Linked DNA regions of Homo sapiens: region 2 is linked to region 1. Evidence: promoter capture Hi-C in human tissues and cell types (Jung and others, 2019). All regions are on one chromosome and are shown on one strand. The core of a region is centred on a gene start or on the middle of the fragment in contact, and the rest is flanking DNA. Distances in the headings are between cores, read along the strand shown.

The links. The method cuts DNA at HindIII sites, captures the fragments that hold promoters and counts their contacts. A contact is called where the count stands out against the background at its distance.
Region 2: a fragment that was not itself captured here is called in contact with the fragment with the promoter of PTF1A in region 1 in 1 of the 25 tissues and cell types used here (H1 embryonic stem cells).

Annotation. Positions count from the first base shown.
Region 1 is chr10:23,190,777-23,193,897 of GRCh38, forward strand. PTF1A (pancreas associated transcription factor 1a) reads left to right here and starts at 1,536. Exons shown (of 2, transcript NM_178161.3): 1 at 1,536-2,538; 2 at 2,928-3,121. The coding sequence starts at 1,755. The HindIII fragment of the contact is 16,553 bases long and covers 1-3,121 here.
Region 2 is chr10:23,522,641-23,525,761 of GRCh38, forward strand. No RefSeq gene overlaps it. Among named protein-coding and RNA genes, the nearest start is that of OTUD1, 85 kb to the left of the region's middle. The HindIII fragment of the contact is 6,427 bases long and covers 1-3,121 here.

The DNA of each region.
Region 1 (3,121 bases), core at 286-2,785:
GTCCTTGGGTTAAAATTGTTTGGGGTTGTTGGCAGTTCAAGGTAAGGCAATCTCTGGCCTTCTAACCTTATATATCTTTTGGTTTAACTCTTTGTTCTCAATTCAGTTAATTACAGTGCAATGTCTAAAACCAAGAAGCGTATTTAAATCACTAATCTGAAGAGGCATGACTTGGAATTTGAGAGGCGTCTGAATACCCAACAGAAGCCTCTAGTGAGACAAGTGCCTGAAAAAGGAAGCGGCCCAGGAGGACGACTCCTTTCAGTCCTCTGTAGAGAGAATACGCACGATGGCTGCGCTTCTGAACTCTCCCGGGGTGGAAGCTGCAGCCTGGCTTTTAACCGGAATTGCCCAGACCTTGAAAGTGTTTCTTTGTTGCTCTTAAAAAGAGGAATTCACGTTGCATCGCAGTCTGTGATAAAGTCTGTCTTGGGGCAGAGCTGCATACGTTTTGTGTTTTTTTTTTTTTTCAGAAAAGAAAGGTCGAGAAAGAAAAAAACAAGTCATTCAGGGATGGTCCCTGTGGCCAGTCGGAAAGGTGAGAGACTCGGGCTTTGAAAACGATTCACATTCTGCCCTTTAACTTCAATGCCTTCCCTCCGGACTGCGCCGGAGCAGACGATTCAATGGACTCCTTTTGTATCCAGTTTATTGCTCAGAATCCCTAGGGTCTAGATTTGCTCTCAGAAGAAACGCGCCCCGCTGAGCTGCTCTGGGGGCTGCCCCTCCCGTCTCCCCATTCCTTTCTCCGGGCCGGGGAGGGCAGGGGAGGCAGCCACTGAGCCGATGTCGCTGGGGACCCGCACCAGGCACCACAGCCAGGCTCCAGAGCGGAGTCCCATAGGTGCGCTCCCAGCCCCCGTGTTGCGTCTGGAACGCAGTGGGAGTGGGCCCGGATCACCTTCCAATGACACCCGCATATACTCTGCAAACTGTGCAAAAGCCCTTGAAAAGTCCAGAGATGGGACAGAAGCCCCCAGCAGAACCCAGGCCGGAGCCCCGCGCACCTCGGATAAGGGGGTGGCGGAATGCACCCACCTGGTCCCTGAGGGCAGCACCCTTAGATTGCCCAGGCTGCCGCGGAGGAGGACGATCGCCGCGCGGGCTCCGCTCTCGCCGTCTGGGCCACCGGCGCGCACCCCTAGGAACTTCTCTGGCCGCGTGTAGACGCGGCGCGCGGCTGCCCCAGTCCCAGGGCGGAAGGAGCCGGCGCTGCTCAGCGCGCGCGGGTACGCAGCGGGCACCGCGGGACGCAGGTGCCCCTGGAGCCGCACGCGGGGCAGGTACAGAATCCAGTATGCAGAGGCAGAGGAGAGGGAAGAGAGCGGTGCGAGGAGCCCCGGGCCGCGCGACCCCGCCTTTTCCTCGCCCCAGGAGCTCCCAAAGGGAGCAAAACGCCCCCCACCCCCGCCCACCGCCGCGCCTCCGGGCCCCCTCGCCGCCGGCACACCGCGCTCTGATTGGCTGGCGCGATGGGTCCCTGGCACGCGCCTATGGATGTTGTTATAAGAATCCTCGCGTGCCGGCCCTCAGCTCCAGGAAGTCCGCCACAGCCCTCCCCAGCGCAGCGCGAGCGCGGGCCAGAGCGCAGCGGCCGCGGGCACTCCAGGGAGGCCCGGGGGCGGGCAGCCCGGCGGCCGCCTAGCTGCCCCCAGCCAGGGCCCCGGGAGGGAGGGGCTCGGACGGGCCTTAGAAACTCACCAAGAACTAACACGCGCAGCCCGGCAGTCCCGCTGCCCACTGCGGCGGCGAGCATGGACGCGGTGTTGCTGGAGCACTTCCCCGGGGGCCTAGACGCCTTTCCTTCTTCGTACTTCGACGAGGACGACTTCTTCACCGACCAGTCTTCACGGGACCCCCTGGAGGACGGCGATGAGCTGCTGGCGGACGAGCAGGCCGAGGTGGAGTTCCTTAGCCACCAGCTCCACGAGTACTGCTACCGCGACGGGGCGTGCCTGCTGCTGCAGCCCGCGCCCCCGGCCGCCCCGCTAGCGCTCGCCCCGCCGTCCTCGGGGGGCCTCGGTGAGCCAGACGACGGCGGCGGCGGCGGCTACTGCTGCGAGACGGGGGCGCCCCCAGGCGGCTTCCCCTACTCGCCCGGCTCGCCGCCCTCGTGCCTGGCCTACCCGTGCGCCGGGGCGGCAGTACTGTCTCCCGGGGCGCGGCTGCGCGGCCTGAGCGGAGCGGCGGCTGCGGCGGCGCGGCGCCGGCGGCGGGTGCGCTCCGAGGCGGAGCTGCAGCAGCTGCGGCAGGCGGCCAACGTGCGCGAGCGGCGGCGCATGCAGTCCATCAACGACGCCTTCGAGGGGCTGCGCTCGCACATCCCCACGCTGCCCTACGAGAAGCGCCTCTCCAAGGTGGACACGCTGCGCCTGGCCATCGGCTACATCAACTTCCTCAGCGAGCTCGTGCAGGCCGACCTGCCCTTGCGCGGCGGTGGCGCGGGCGGCTGCGGGGGGCCGGGCGGCGGCGGGCGCCTGGGCGGGGACAGCCCGGGCAGCCAGGCCCAGAAGGTCATCATCTGCCATCGGGGCACCCGTAAGTGCTTCCGCTTCCCAGCTCAGGGAGAAGGGGTCGGGCACTCGAAGGCTCCGGAGGGGCTGGGGGAGCTGACTGCCAAGCAGACAGTCGGACCGACGGATTGTCGGTGGGCACGGAAAAACTTGAATGCGAGCTCGCGTTTCTCGTTTTTTTTTTTTTTTTTATTTTTCTGCCACGTTGACCGCGGCTCTCAAGGGCGCGCGTCCCCGCCAGACTTGCAGCTCCTCGGATTCCTGGGAGGGGACGGTGGGGACTTGAAGTGTGGAGGAAGAGGGTGGTTCTAGTATAACCGGAGAGCACCCAGGAAAGGGTCCTAAAGGACCTGATGGGACCAATGGGAATGTGGTTGGATATTCACAGTCTGTTTTCTCTTCTCACCTGTCCAGGGTCCCCCTCCCCCAGCGACCCTGATTATGGCCTCCCTCCCCTAGCAGGACACTCTCTCTCATGGACTGATGAAAAACAACTCAAGGAACAAAATATTATCCGAACAGCCAAAGTCTGGACCCCAGAGGACCCCAGAAAACTCAACAGCAAATCTTCCTTCAACAACATAGAAAACGAACCACCATTTGAGTTT
Region 2 (3,121 bases), core at 265-2,764, 330 kb after region 1:
TGGTGCAAGCATAGCTCACTGCAGCCTTGCACTCCTGAGCTCAAGCAATCCTTCTGCTTCAGCTTCCTGAGTAGATAAGACTGCAGGTGCGCACCACCATGCCAAGTTAATTTTTAATTTTTTTTCTGTAGAGATGAAGTCTATGTTGCCCAGGCTCATCTTGAACTCCTGGCCTCAAGTGATCCTTCTGCCTCAGCCTCCGAAAGCACTGGGATTACAGGCATAAGCCACTGTGCCCGGCTGATAAATATCTAATTAATGCAGGGTTGAATAGGTGATTGAATACATGAATGGAATCAGTAGGCACTTATTTATTTGCTTTAGCATCTATTAAATAGTCACCATCTTGTGGGTTGTAGTTACTGTACAACTGAAGTGTTTGTAGGTGTTTGACATGCACATTTGAAGTAGCATGAAAAAGCCACCTGACTAGGCAGTGTGATAGGATTACTGATTTCTGCTGATAGCCAGGCCTACCTCACTCCGGGATTCTAGAATTATACTTTTGCATGGAATATCTCTCCTTGTGCTAACTCCTGATTTGACTTGCATCACATCACCAAAGTGTTTCCGGTCATCTAGGTCTTTTGGAAACTCTGGGGCCAAGAATCCTTGAAAGACCTAAAGGAAGCATTTTGAGGAACTGGGCCCCCTCGTGGCCTGTCCTTGGCAGGGGCTTTGGACTGGTATGGAAGTCTCCCATATCCATGCGTCTGGGCAAAATGCAAATGGCAGTAACACCACCAGCTCCTTATTTCTCACTGATGCTGGACAGAGACCCAGCAACCTTTACCCTGGAAGTAATCAAGTGGTTTTGACATGAACTCTGAGGTGGGGCTTGGTTTTTCAAGAAACCCTCTCTCCTGTCAAGCCAGGTCTATTCTGGATGCCAGGACCAGAGAAGTGGCCACCACCACGTGGAGCAGTTGAGACCATTGGTGAGGTGAGGATAAAATAATTCATTGTCTTGCTTTCATCTCTCATTGGCTGAGAGAACATAGGCACGTTACTTTCAGCTATGAACTTCTCAACTGTAAAATAAGAGGGTTGACTCAAGAGGATCTGAAAAGCCTTTTCCAGCTCTGTCATTCCTGCAGTACTGTGGATTTTTCTTTTAGGGATGAAAATGGGTTCCAGTGCAAGTTGTTGTCCTCACTCTAAGGAAGCCCTGGCCAGCCACTCCCTTCTCCTCTTGAGATAACATTTTAGTTATCATCTTTCTCAGTCACCACCTCTGTCTTACAGTTTTTATTTTTGACATCATTGTTTTCTTATTTACATCAAATGTGTGTTAGTTTACAAACATTCTGAAAAAAGTGAAATCGACTCAGCATAGATTTATGTGGGTAATAACCTGCAGCACACTGAAGCAAGTGCATGGTATTAGGCCGTTCTCGCATTGCTATAAGGAAATACCTGAGACTGGGTAATTTACAAAGAAAAGAAGTTTAATTGGCTCACAGTGTTTCAGGCTATACAGGAAGCATGATCCTGGCATCTGCTCGGCTCCTTGGGGGAACCTCAGGAAACTTACAATCATGGTGGATGGCAAAGGGGGAGCGAGACCTCTCACACGGTAGGAGCAGGAGCAGGAGCAGGGGCAAGAGCAGGGGTGGGGTGCGGGGGCAGCGAGGTTTTACACACTTTAAACAACCACATCTCATGAGAACTCTCTCACAAGAACAGCACCAACCAGACGGTGCTAAACTATTCATGAAGGATCCACCCCAGTGATCCAATCACCTCCCACCAAGCCCTACCTCCAACACTGGGGATTACGATTTGACATGAGATTTGGGTGCAGACATAGACCCATACCATATCAGACATGAACAGGAACAGACAGGGCTCTGTCCCCCAGGATCACACAACCTGGCAGAAAAGTCTGTTAGCTCCATTGCTACAATTCCATTCTAAAGACTGTAGGTGCTCAATAGCATTTCTTCTCCCTCCCAACCTGGGAATTTTATTTATGCTGTAGGAGAGGAAACTATCTTTTCCTCACCCATCCTAGGTTCCTGGCTGAGGCCCCTGTAACAAAAGACAGATTAACAAAATAAAACACATACAAATGTATTTAATGTAAGTTTTATGTGACACAGGAGCCTTCATAGGGAAATGAAGATTCAAAGACACAGTTAAACTCAAATGTTTTTAAAAAATATTTTAAAATTTTTATTTGAGATGGAGCCTTGCAGCATTGCCCAGGCTAGTCTTGGACTCCTGGCCTCAAGTGATCCTCCTTCCTTGGCCTCCCAAACAGCCGAGATTATAGGCATGAGCCACTACATGCAGCCAAACTTGAGTGGTTTTTTATAGCTGGTTTGATCAAGAGTGGACAGTTGTGGAGAAATATGAGTGGGAAAAAAGGGTATGATCTAATGGTAATAAACTTGGGGAAACTTAGCAAACCTATTTGTTCAAATTCTTCCATGTCCCTGTGTCTTCAGAGATTTTTTCTTTCTGGGTATAGGGTGGGTAGCTTTCACATGAGATTCTTATGCCCTGCTTCAGGAGAGGACAAATGAAGGCCAGAGAGACCTTCCTGTTTCTGCTGTTTTCACACATTCCTTCAGCTTGAAATATTCAGTATGTCAAGGTGCCATACTTTGGGGTAGGGTGTTTGGAAATCACCAGTGCATTTCAAAAGGAATATGAAGACGTTACCAGTGGCTATAAATACATAGAGTAATGGTCATTTTCTTTTCTTTTCTTTTCTTTTTTCTTTTTTTTAAGCAAAGACTCTGTGTACCTTCTATCTGGTGTTAGTTTGGTTAGGTTCTTTTAGTTTTGTAGAATTGTTATCTTGCTGTGATTATGTTCTTTTAACACTAAGGAAAACCATGTAAAAAGCAGGGTGTTCAAAATTCTGGGGACTAAGACTTGGAAAGAAATAGGCCCAGCAAGCCAGTTCCGCAGGGCTGTCATTAGAGAGTTGACTTGGGTGGCACAGAAGGCACCATAGTGCCCTCTAAGGGTGGTAGTTACTGAATTATTGTACTTCGCTGACATACTGTTTACTCATTAAAGGTCTTGGAAAAGCAGAATTTTAACTACCTTTGCTCCAAGAGAATAAACTCTATTTAGAACAAGGGAAAGCTTTCTATTTTTACCCAGGAAA